Linked DNA regions of Homo sapiens: region 1 is linked to region 2. The links are contacts of gene promoters, found by promoter capture Hi-C in blood cells and fetal thymus (Javierre and others, 2016). All regions are on one chromosome and are shown on one strand. The core of a region is centred on a gene start or on the middle of the fragment in contact, and the rest is flanking DNA. Distances in the headings are between cores, read along the strand shown. Region 1 overlaps ZNF136 (zinc finger protein 136). Region 2 holds the start of ZNF700 (zinc finger protein 700).

What was found. Contacts are between HindIII fragments. The CHiCAGO score rates a contact against its expected background, and 5 or more counts as called.
Region 1: a contact is called between a fragment that was not itself captured here and the fragment with the promoter of ZNF700 in region 2, in 1 of 17 cell types (naive CD4 T cells). The highest score is 5.2, in naive CD4 T cells.

The regions. Positions count from the first base shown.
Region 1 is chr19:12,182,644-12,189,222 of GRCh38, reverse strand. It overlaps ZNF136 (zinc finger protein 136), which reads right to left. Exons shown (of 4, transcript NM_003437.5): 2 at 3,312-3,438; 3 at 3,049-3,109; 4 at 1-2,653. The coding sequence ends at 1,222. Among named protein-coding and RNA genes, the nearest start is that of ZNF136, 23 kb to the right of the region's middle. The HindIII fragment of the contact is 722 bases long and covers 2,237-2,958 here.
Region 2 is chr19:11,920,768-11,926,996 of GRCh38, reverse strand. ZNF700 (zinc finger protein 700) reads right to left here and starts at 1,890. Exons shown (of 4, transcript NM_144566.3): 1 at 1,724-1,890. The coding sequence starts at 1,786. It also overlaps a transcript of ZNF69 not described here. RefSeq lists a silencer at 1,428-1,627 and enhancers at 2,018-2,127, 2,178-2,227, 1,675-2,247, 2,404-3,193, 3,194-3,984. The HindIII fragment of the contact is 3,475 bases long and covers 269-3,743 here.

The DNA of each region.
Region 1 (6,579 bases), core at 1,348-3,847, 260 kb before region 2:
TTATTTTTCAGTGGTCCTCAATCACAGAACAATTAAGCAACCATATACAATTTAACATACCTGAATATGAGAAACACATTTAAATTCATTGTTGGATTAAACACATTTCAAAATGGAAAGACAAATATTTTATTTACTGACCTAAAACAACACTACCTATGAAATTCATGCACTATTGCTTTCAGATTACTTACAGGATTATATCAATTTAACATTTCTTTGTGAGATTAAGCATTTGAAATCCATAGTCAGAGAACTATTTTAAATATGAGCCACTAATTAACAAAATATACATATAGCTTCTACATTTCCATCAGGTTATGTATTTTCTAGAGACTACATGACCCGCTATGCATGAGGCTTTTTGAAGTACTTACATTTATAGGATTTTGCTGTATTAGAAGTTTTCAAATGACTTTTTTTTTTTTTCTGAGATGAGGTCTTGCTATGTTTTGCACACTGGTCTCAAACTCCTGACCTCAAGTGATCCTCCTGCCTCAGCCTCCCAAAGTGCTGGGATTACAGGTGTGAGCCACCACACCCAGCCAGAGCCAAAACATCTGTTCAAATTCAATACCTCAACTAGTGAGGCCCTGCTGGGATTGAAATCCAGCATCTCCTGTTTGCCAGACAAGTACTTTAACCCACAAAGCCACAGAGCCAGAGCCCTCAAATGACTTTAAAAGTATAATGGAAAACCTTCCTTGTAGTTTTCACATTTATAGTGTTTTGATCCAGGGTACATTCTTACATGTTGTTGAAAGCATGTGGGCTGGCTAAAAACGTGTGGACATTGCTTATATTCAAGAGCTTTCTCTTTTGTGTGTTCTTTCATGGCTTCAAGTGGAACTAAAATGACTAAAGGCTCTCCCACACTCTTTACATTTACCAAGGTTCTCTCCACTACACATTCATGTGTGACAGGGTTGTGTGATGACAAAACCTTTCCTACACCCTTTACCCAGGGTTTCTCTCAAATATGGGTTCCTTTCCAAAAAGCATTTGTTTGGTTTTCTCCATGATGAGTTCTTTCATGTATTTGAAAGGAACTAAAATGATTGAAAGCTTTCCCATGTTACTTACATGTATATGGCTTCTCTCTAGAATTCTTTCATGTATTAAAAAAGGCACTGACAGAATTTCATGCTTTCCCACGTTACTTACATTCATAGGGCTTCTCTTCAGTGAGTATTTTAATGTATCTGACATGAACCCAGAGCATTAAAGGCTTTCCCACATGCATTTATAAGGTGGTCCATCTTCAGCATGTGTTAACATGTGTCTCTGAAAGCTGGCACGGCAAGAATAGGCTTTCCCACATTCCTTGCAATGATAGGGTTTCTGTCCAGTGTGAGTCCTTTCATGTAGTCGAAAGGAACTAGAAGATCTAAAGGCTTTACCACATCGCTTACATTCAAAGGGTTTCTCACCAGTGTGAATCATTTCATGTGTTCGAAAGGAGTTGAGATAACTGAAGGCTTTCCCACATTGCTTACACTCATAGGGTTTCTCTCCAGTATGAGTTCTTTCATGTATTCGAATTGATGTTGAAGAAACGAAAGCTTTACCACAATGTTTACATACATAAGGTTTCTCTCCAGTGTGAGTTCTTTCATGTATTCGAAATGGACTCAGAGAATGAAAGGGTTTCCCACATACCTTACATTTATAAGGTCCTTCTCCAGTATGTTTTATCATGTGTCTTCGCATACTTGGGATACAACTGAATGCTTCCCCACATTCCTTACATTCATAAGGTTTTTCTCCAGTGTGAGTCCTTTCATGTATTTGAAAGGTACTGGCAGATCTAAAGGCTTTACCACATTGTTTACATACGAAGGGTTTCTCACCAGTGTGAATTCTTTCATGTAGTCGAAGGGAGGGGAGATAACTGAAGGCCTTCCCACACTGCTTGCATTCATAAGGTTTCTCTCCAGTATGGGTTCTTTCATGTATTCGTAAGGTTGGGGAACAACTGAAGGCTTTACCACATTGCTTACATTTAAAGGGTTTTTCTCCAGTGTGAATTCTTTCATGCACTTGAAATGAACTCAGAGAATGAAAGGGTTTCCCACATACCTTACATTTATAAGGTCCATCTCCAGTGTGCTTTATCATGTGTCTTCGAACACTTGTGATACAAGTGAAGGCTTTTCCACATTCCTGACATTCATAGGGTTTCTCTCCAGTGTGACTTCTTTCATGTGTTCGAAATCTACTGGGATAATCAAAAGCTTTCCCACACACCTTACATTTATATGGTGTATATCCACTGTGTGTGATGATGTGTCTTCTAATTCTTTTGAGAGAAAAGAAGGTTTTTCCACATTCCTTACAATCATAGAGTTTCTCTCCAGTGTGAATTATCTCATGTGTTCGAAAGGAGTGGTGAGAACTGAAGGGTTTCCAACACTGGTTACGTGTATCTGGCTTCTCTCCATATTCCTGATATTCCTTTGGTTCATGTCCACTGTGATCTTTGATGTGTCTATTAAGGGATGACTGACCCATGCTGACTTCTCCATATACAATGCTTTCACAGAGTTTCACTCCAGGGATTTTCTTGCTCAGATTCTGATTTGCAAACTGGCTAAAAATTCCTCCACGCTGACTACCATCCTTAGTTTGATAGAGTCTTTCTAACATATGACTTCTGTAAAAAATGAGACGGACATTACTAAGGATTTGTTAATCATTTTATATTAATAGCTATTAAACTTGCATTTTCAATATTATCAGGTAAAGCGTAGACTCGATGCCAAGTCTGATTTGTTTGAGCATGAATGAATTCAATGCTCTGCAATGGGCTTGACCGCAACTATCACTCAAACAGTGATATTCTTAAATAGTTTCTTAATTCTGTTGACAAATGAACATTTTTATAAAAACTGAACATCTGTTTACACTGAAGAATATGTATTTGGGGAAAATATTCAAAAAATAAATCAATTTGAAGCTTGGCTTATCAGTTATGTTTGCCTGTTTTTAAAATTTCATGACATGCTAAGGTACTTTCAAGTGAATTTGCTTTCTCTGAGTACAAATTACCTTAGATTTCTCCCTCGGTGTTTGTAGTGATCTTTAATGTTCTGGTCCTTCCATTTTTTCCCTAAAACAGAGACCCAGAAAAATTCTGAATTAGTGCAAAATTATAGAAAAATTATTAGATTCTAGGTTCATGATACCCTGTGACTATGCCTGTTTTAGCCCCCCAAGTACTCTCCCTCCATGATGCAAACCATGGAACAGCATCACTGCACAAGAAGCACTTCTTCTTTAATTGCTAAGTGATGGAAGTATACAATCCTTACCTATAGAGGCCAGATTCCTCATGGTTTCCCACATCACATCTCTGTAGAGATTCTTCTGGGAAGGATCTAGCAAAGCCCACTCCTCCTGGGTGAAGTTCACATCTACATCCTCAAAAGCCACCGAGTCCTGAAACATCCCACATATGTGGAGAGGAGAATGGGTGAGACAGACAGGGCTGGGGAGCTGTACTCAATTCATAAGAAGTTCACATGTTTCAGGGGTCTGCAAACATTTACTCCACTGTTTGGTCATCATACTCACTTCCTTCCACACAGCAACTCTCATACTAGAATGGAACTATCGGGTAGAACAATAGCAGTGTCTGATCATCTTTCTTGGTGGTGGTTGCAAGGAGTAATACGTGCTGCCTGAGTCCCAGCTAATGTCTGCTCATACAGTGGACCTGTAGAACCTGTCATAACGAAGTCCTACCACCTACTATGCAAAAGAGTTTATATTAGCAGTCCTGAGACTGCTTACCCTTAAAAAAAGGCTCCTCACTCCTCACAACATTCATCTGAGGTAGGAGACCAACAGGACTTGTATTCTGATCACAACCCTACTGGCCAAAACAAGATCTGGCACAGGTAGGATAAAGTAAAGAAAGGGGCCAAAACCAGCAGACGACAAGAACAGCGATCTCTAGATGCTCTCACTGCTCATTAGCATAAAACACTCCCACCAATGCTATGACAGCTTACAAATGCCATGGCAATGACCTGAAAGTTATCATTCCTTCCTTAGAAAGTTTTAAATAACCCACCACTTAATTTGCATATAATTGAAAGTGGGTATAAATATAGTTGCCAAGAGACCATATGTTGCTGACTCTGGGTGTACTGCCTATGAGTTAGCACTGATCCACAAAGACCAGTACTGTTAAATAAAACACTGTTATCTAACACCACTGGCCTGCCCTTGAATTCTTCCCTGGGCAAAGCTGGAAACCATCCTGGGATAAGCCCCAATTTTAGGGCGCACCTGTCCTGCATCACATCCATTCCTGGTATCTGGGAAACGGATTTGGGGAAGGAGCCCAATGACCTATGTAAGAGTAGCTCGGTGCCTAAACTCTTTATGGAAAAAATATGAAAATTTCTGGCGTCCCACCTTCTGAGAGTTTGGGAATTTGTTACACGCGCAACACATAGTGCCCACCTGATGAGCCCCCAGAAACACTCCAGGAAGCATTTCGCATGTGTTCTCACAATTGGTTACTGGGAAAATTAAGCCCATCTTCTGTTATTATACTAAGAGAGAATACTTGCAAGCTTGTACCTATCCTGCAGATCAAATATAATTAAGTACTAAATGAGACTAATGAAGGATTTTTTACCTTTTTTTTTTTTTTTTTAGACGGAGTCTGGCTCTCTGTTGCCCAGGCTGGAGCGGCGTGATCTCGGCTCACTGCAAGCTCCGCTTCCCGGGTTCATGCCATTCTCCTGCCTCAGCCTCCTGAGTAGCTGGGACTACAGGCACCTGCCACCACGCCTGACTAATTTTTTGTATTTTTTAGTACAGACAGGGTTTCACCATGTTAGCCAGGATGGTCTCAATCTCCTGACCTCGTGATCTGCCCACCTCGGCCTCCCAAAGTGCTGGGATTACAGGCGTGAGCCACCACACCCAGCCCTCTTTTTTTTTTTGGATGGAGTCTTGCTCTGTCGCCCAGGCTGGAGTGCAGTGGCAGGGTCTTGGGTCACTGCAACCTCTGCCTCCCAGGCTCAAGGGATTATCCCGCCTCAACCTCCCGAGGAGGTGGGAGTACAGGCACGTGCCACCACACCCAGCTAATTTTTGTATGTTTAATAGAGATGGGGTTTCACCATGTTGGCCAGGCTGGACCCAAACTCCTGACCGCAAGTATCTGCCAGCCTTGGCCTCCCGAAGTGCTGGGATTACAGGCGTGAGCCACCACACCCAGCTTGATGAATCTTCACTAAATTGGTGAAAATAAATTGGTGAATTCACCAATTTATCTACCTACTTTCTCATCAAAATGTATCAGTGGCCGGGTGAACTGGCTCACACCTGTAATTCCATCACATTGGGAGGTTGAGGCAGAAGGATTGTTTGAGCCCAGGAATTCAACATCAGTTTAGGCAACACAGTGAGAACCTCCATCTCTACAGAAAAATTTAAAAATTAGCCAGCAGTGGTGGTGCACGCCTGTAGTCCCAGCTACTCAGGAGGCTGAGGTGAGAGGACTGCTTGAGACCAGGAGTATGAGAATGCAGCAAGCTATGATGGGTGCCAATGCACTCCAACCTGGGCAAAAGAGGAAGACCCTGTCTCAAGATAAACATAGATAGATAGATAGATAGATAGATAGATAGATAGATAGATAGATAGATAGATAGATTCAGTTATGTGAAGCCATAATGAAGAGTGATTCTCCCTATTTCTCTGAGCTTTTTCTCCCTGTAGCCTTCTCAAGGCTACACTCTAGGATTCTATTTGAAATCACAAAAAAGGAGCTGGGAGTGGTGGCTCACGCCTAAAATCCCAGCACTTCGGGAGGCCAAGGTAGGAGGATCACTTGAGCTCAGGAGATTGAGACCAGCCTGGGCAACATGGTGAAACCCTATCTCTACAAAAAATTAGCCAGTCGTGTAGCCTGCACCTATGGTTCTAGCTGCTCAGGAGGCTGAGGTGGGAGGATTGCTTGAACCGGGGAGGTGGAGGTTGCAGTGAGACGTGATTGTGCCACTGAACTCCAGCCTGGAGCCAGACTGTGTCTCAAACAAACAAACCAAAAAAAAACAAAACAACAACAACAACAACAAAATCACAAAAAAGAACAGACCTGAGAAACTTACTGCATATATGTTCTGGGGGGAAAAATTAAATACAAATTTTTAACAAATATAAGGGTAGATATTTATTTTTCTGAGATACACCTCTCATCTCTTTGGAAATATTTTAGCCTATCTTTCAAGCTTTAATGGTAAAATACATTTTACATGATGAAGTAAGTAAACAAATCTTCTTAAGGTGACAAAATCAGGGAAGGCCACTCTAACCTGGAACACAGAGAAATCTGACTTAACTGCCCAGTCAGGTCATCCTATCACATGGGACATCCCCCCAACCCCCATCCTGTCACTAAAGTGCTGCTCACCGACCCTTCCCAGAGACAGTGGACTGTGCCCCCACCCCCATGCCTAAGTGCATTTTGCTTTTCAAGTTCTTGCATAACCTGGCAGAGGTGGGTTTTCCTTGTCTTTTGGGATCATTTTTCTCCCTTCAAGTACTCTGAGAGAATCC
Region 2 (6,229 bases), core at 641-3,140:
AGAACTCTCCTGGGGTCTGATCAGGACCTCTTTTCCTGGTAATACAAGCAAGAACTTAACTTCCAGTTTTGGAGTACTGAGTCTATTTCCCTAGAGTCTGTGTTTTTCCCAAATGGGCCACTGCTATCCTTCCGCTTGAATAAACTCTTCCAACTGAAATCTTGACCTTTCTATTATTTCGGAGTGACAAGTCCAAATAAGGCAACTGCATCTCTGCAACCAATCAAGCATTTATCTGGTTTGTCTCCTCACGTAACTTATAAAAGCTTACCCCTAAACTGGTAAACTAAAAATAAAAACATACCTCTGGCCCGGCGAGATGGCTCACATCTGTAATCCCAGCACTTTGGGAGGCTGAGGTGGGTGGATCACTTGAGGTCAGGAGTTCGAGACCAGCCTGGCCAACATGGTGAAACCCCATCTCTACTAAAAATACAAAAATTAGGAGGGCATAGTGGTGCATGCCTGCAATCCCAGCTACTCAGGAGGCTGAGGCAGGAGAATCACTTGAACCCGGAAGGTGGAGGTTGCAGTGAGCCGAGATCAGGCCATTGCACTCCAGTCTGGGCGACAGGAGACTCCGTCTCAAATAAAAACAAAGTACCTTTCCAGCTAAGTGAAGTGACCGGCTCTTGGCCAACAGGACCCGCAAAAAACCCTGAAAATTGAGTGCCTCTGTATGACAGGATGGGAGGTGAGACAGGTCTCCTTATACCCTCTCCCACACATTCATGTAAAAATAGATAGAATGGAAAAACAGACTGCTTGTGGCAAGAAGATACTAACTTACAAACAAAACCTAAGGCCACGCAAGGCAAAAGTAAAGTCACGCCTCAGAATTCATAAAATCTAGAGAAACAGGTCTGTTTTCTGGCTGGGATGGAATCAAGTGGCAGATAACAGACCCCCTTCCTTCCTACCTCCTCCAAACTTTAGACAAACTTCACACTCTCAACCAGCTGCCACCTACAGAATCCCTCAACCACCTGTGCCTTCTAACCCCCCTTCCACAGGTCCCACCCTTTCTGCCAATGGAACTTACACCTTTCAGGCACTGATTCATCATTTTCCCTGCAATTCCTGTCTCTCTGAAATGAATAAAACCAAACTGTCTTGAGCCGCCTCGGGACCACTTACTCCAGGCTGCTTGGGGTTGTGTTTCCCTCGGCCAAGGTCTCTCCTATTCGGCTCTGAATAAACTTCTTTATTTTACATAGTTTGGCTTTTTCCGTTGACAAACCACAACCCAGGACGGGGTGTTTCTCATTCGTGAATCGCTGTTTGCTCAAATGAACTCTTTAATTGTTAACGTACCTCAGTTTAATTTTTAACAGGAGAAAGTGGGGACTGGGGGCCCCACAGACCACTGCTCCTCCCACGCACGAACCCCACACCCGAGTCAGGATGCCTCCATGACCCTCCCGTTGCTTCCGCACAATCTGGGGAGACGCGGGGCTGCGGGAGCGGAACTGCCCAGAGAGGGCTCCGGGGCAGGGGCCGCGGCCGCAGTCGCCGCGCAGGGACGGGACAGGACGCCCGGGTCCTGGCTGCTGGCCCAGCCCCGTCCAGCGGCCAAGGGGACCGAGGGCCGAACTGCTCAAGGAGGACTCGGTCCCAGACCCCGGAGTCGCCCACAGGGAGGCCCGGGTCCCGCCACAGCCGGTTCCCGCCTGTTCCAGGCAGCCCCTCCCCCGTCTCACGACATCTGGTCCCGCACACGCACCATTTCCCGGCTTTCAGATGTACCGGGGTCCTCTCTACAGCTCCTGTGACTACAGCAGGGCATAGCGCAGGCGACAGAGCGACAGAAGCCTGGGTACAGGCACCAGGTCCCTCTCGGGCTGGTCTGACCGGTTACCAACCGCCGCCCGCGCAGCGAGGAAGGTGAGGAAAGCGACCCCCTCCATTTCCGGATGAACTGTGGGCAGTGCCACGCCCCAGCACCTCTGATTGGATGAAATACTAGGTCCCGCCCCCCACATCTGAGTGACAGCTGAAGCCCTGGGTATCAGGCCCCGCAGAGCCAGACTGACGGATTCTAGCCACAGCTTCTCTAAGGGCGAGCTGCTTTCTGCACTCTGGTTATTGGATATTTGCATTTCAGCCAAACTTGCTATTGATAGAAGAGAACACTAGCGTCATCCTCACTCAAGGGACAGTCCCCGCTCCTTCGTTCTGCACGGGGTCACAGGAGTGTGCAGGGAATTTCAGACTCAGTGTCCATAGGAGCCAACTGCTGGCCTCAGAGCAGCAGGGGAACCGAGACCAGGCCAGGCACGACTGCACCAGGAGGAGAGGCATATGTCCTCGAGCGGGCCGGAATTGGGGATGAGGCGTGGCCAAGCCTTGCTCACACACCCCCATCCCCTTGTGAAAATGCTTCCTCCTTTCAGATCTTCATTTTCACCAGCAGGAAACTCTCACCAGGTTTTGTTTCTGACCTAAGTAAACTGTCAACTTCATGAACCCTTTATCCAGGTGACGCCACCAAACAATTCTGTCTCTAGCTCTAGCCTGATCTTCACACATTTTCTTTTCTTTCTTTCTTTTTTTTTTTTTTTTTTTGAGACGGAGTCTTGCTCTGTAGCCCAGGCTGGAGTGCAGTGGTGCGATCTCGACTCACTGCAAGCTCCGCCTCCCGAGTTCACGCCATTCTCTTACCTCGGCCTCCGGAGTAGCTGGGATTAAAGGCGCCCGCCACCACGCCCGGCTAATATTTTGTATTTTCAGTGGAGACGGGGTTTCACCGTGTTAGCCAGGATGGTCTCGATCTTCTGACCTCTTGATCCGCCCGCCTCGGCCCCGCAAAGTGCTGGGATTACAGGCGTGAGCCACCGCGCCCGGCCACACATTTTCTTTATCTATACAAATAACTCTGACCCCAACGACCCCATGCATGTCAAACCCCAAACCCTGCCCAGAAGACAGCTCCAGAGGTACAACACCAGAAAGGACAGAGACGCCACAAATGCGTCTGCACATGGGTCTTCTGCTTTCCAGGGCTCTGCAGCTTCTCGGAATCCACACCCTTTCTGGAGCTGCTCTGAGCAGCTGGAGGCCACTTGTAGAAGGGGGTGGGCTGCCCGCGAAGCCCCCAGGGAAACTCTCTTTCCCTCCCTTTGCAGGCTGCAGAGACTGTCCTCAACGTGGAATCACTGGCCTTGGGCTCTGCTGCCCCCTGCAGGTTATTCAGCTACTTCTCACCCCATCGATTAGTTTCGCGAGACAAACACCTTCAATCCCATTGTGTAAATAAGACACCAGCAGAGTCCCTGCTCTCCTCCTATGCTTATGTATAAAGTGGGGGAGGAAAAATCTAAGATAACTTAAGGGCATTTGAAAGACTTCCAGATCGCGGTGGAGGTGGCAGCTGAGGGACTCGCAGTCAATGACACTGCAGCACCTCCAGGCCAGGCTGGTGGGAGAGAGGGTGGAGAGCTGGAGATGGATGTGGATAGGTGGAGGGAGCTGCCCTGGGAACTGGGCTCTGCAGCAGTGCGGCTCTAGGGCCCGGAGCCCGGGAGAGCAGAGATGGGGGCTCCCAGGACAGGAAACTCAGGGAGGAGAGAGTCGGGTGGCTTCCATGGGACGGGGTGCTGTTGCAGCTTGTGTGAGCCAGTAGCTATCATAACTAAGCCCAATCGGGACGTGAAAACTTGGATTCCGTGGGAATTTATGAAGAGGAAGGCTCTGATGACAAAGAAGTCATCGATGAGGAGGGGGATGAGGGTCACTGGCAAGCTTGCTTCCTTATGGAAAGAAAAGTGAACACCCAACTACTGCTGCAAAATGGGATCAAAGGATGAGACTCTCGCTGTCAGGGAATAAACTGCTGCAGAACTCTTAGAGATTGCAAAGACCTTTCAACAACAGCCTGGGAGGCCAGGTGCCATGGCTCATGCCTGCAATCCCAACATTTTGGGAGGCCAAAGTGGCAGGATCACTTGAAGCCCGAAGTTGAAGACCACCCTGAGCAGTGAAGTGAGACACTCCCATCTCCATAAATCTATTTTTTAATTAGCCAGGAGAGGTGGTGTGTACCTGTAATCACAGCTACTCAGGAGGCTGAGGCAGGAGGATCACTTGAGCCCCAAAGTTTGAGGCTGCTGTGAGCTGTGATCAGGTTACTGAACTTCAGCAAGACACTGTCTCAAAAAAAAAAAAAATCAAAAACAAAAAAACCCATAAAAAGCCCACCAGACTCCCCGGGGAAACCCTGACCCCCTTGGATGGTCTAATTGTAAAACACAGCAGGTGGTATTTCCTTATGGACTGGATCATTCTGGCCACATAAGAGGCTTGGCCTACTGAGGATTTACCAGGCGGATGACCTCCTTGCAGTCAATGGAAAAGGCCCCTGGTGAAACCATCCCTTTAAACTTTATCAAATTCATCAGGGAGGATGGGAGGAGAAAACTTAAACCAAGCTGCAGAACCTTCAGCATTAATCATTAAGTCAGCTTGTTCCCTGAACTTCCTCATATTTGCTTCATACCTAGTGTCCTAGAATCCCATTGTTGTGGTAAACTGAGGAAGGAGAGACCAATATGGAGTACAGGAGGATTTGTTTATATTTTAGGTACGCACTGGCTCAGACGATTCATATCCAAAAAGCTGAGGACTGAACGAAGACAAAGTGGGGTTTTTATACGCTGTCTTACAGATGCCAAACAAAAGCAGTTAATCATACAGTGACAGGTCATGTAATCTATAGCATAACATAATTTATGACCTTGCATAGCCAGTGTCCTTGTAGCTGCATTGAAAGAAAAACAAGAACTGGCTAAATACAGACATTTGTAAAACATAATAATGCTTAAGAAGACTTGCAAAAGAGTAACAGTAAAAGAATCTGTCTCTTTTTTTTTTTTCCTTCAACATTGCTCTGGAAGGGAGGGGTGTCTGGAGCCCATTCCTTTGGCCTTGGCTATTTGGACATCGTTATCTTCTTGATAAGGTCCTGGAAGTGAGCTGCTAGGCAGAGGAAAACTTGTGCTTTTCTTTTTTCTTTTTAACCCTTGCCTTGCCACACTCTGGGCCTTAGCTTTTACTTTTCTTGGAGTAAATAAATTCAGTACTTATTATTTTTAAATTTCTGCCTCACGATGGACCCTAAATGATAGTTCCTGTTAACTGCTCTATAGATAATAACTTGAACGTTAGATGTTTTCCCTTTGAAATATTTCCATTTCAGGGCCGGGCGCAGTGGCTCATGCCTGTAATCCCAGCACTTTGGGAGGTCGAGGCAGGTGGATCACCTGAGGTCAGGAGTTCAAGACTAGCCTGGCCAAGATGGTGAAACCCTGTCTCTACTAAAAATACAAAAATTAGCTGGGCGTAGTGGCAGGTGCCTGTAATCCCAGCTACTCAGGAGGCTGAGGCAGAGAATCGCTTGAACCCGGGAGTTGGAAGGTTGCAGTGAGCCGAGATTATGCCACTGCACTCCAGCCTGGATGACAGAGTGAGACTCTGTCTCAAAAAACAAACAAACAAACAAACAAACAAACAAAAGAAATTTTCCATTTCAGGGCTGGGAGCATTGGTTCATGACTGTAATCTCAGCACTTTGGGAGGCTGAGGTAGGGGGATCACTTGAGCCTTGGAGTTCAAGAACAGCCTGGGCAATATAGTGAGACTCCATCTGCACAAAAAATTTAAAAACAGCCGGGCATAGTGGCATGTGCCTTTATTCCCAGCTACTTGGGAGGCTGAGGCAGGAGAATCCCTTGGGCCTAGGAGTTTCTGCAGTGAGCTATGATCCCACCACTGCACTCTAGCCTGGGAAACAGAGCCATACTATGTTTCTTAAAGAAAAAAAAAAGGAGAAAAGAAATCCAGACATTTGTTAGTCTTTGGATTATTGGAGAGCATTTATCTGACACTGAGTCCAATGTTTGAGACCAATATATAGACTTATTAGAAAGGGGCACTTTGGGACTGGGACACAGCTCTGCAGGAAGCTTTGGACATATTAACATGTTAGTATGGCAGGCACAAGCCTCAGGCACATCTTTGGAGGGTAGAGCTGTAACTTGGGATGTTACAGCTGCTGCTGAGGGTAAAAATTGGGCCTTATGGCACCCACAGTGTGGTAAATCAGTCCCTTTAGGATTTTGGTTGTAATTATGACATGGAGATGAGACCAGACACTCTTGAATTGAACAAGTTCTGGTAGTATATAATGCTTTCCAGCAGGTGGAATCCTTAAGAAAGAACCTTTCTGTGACTG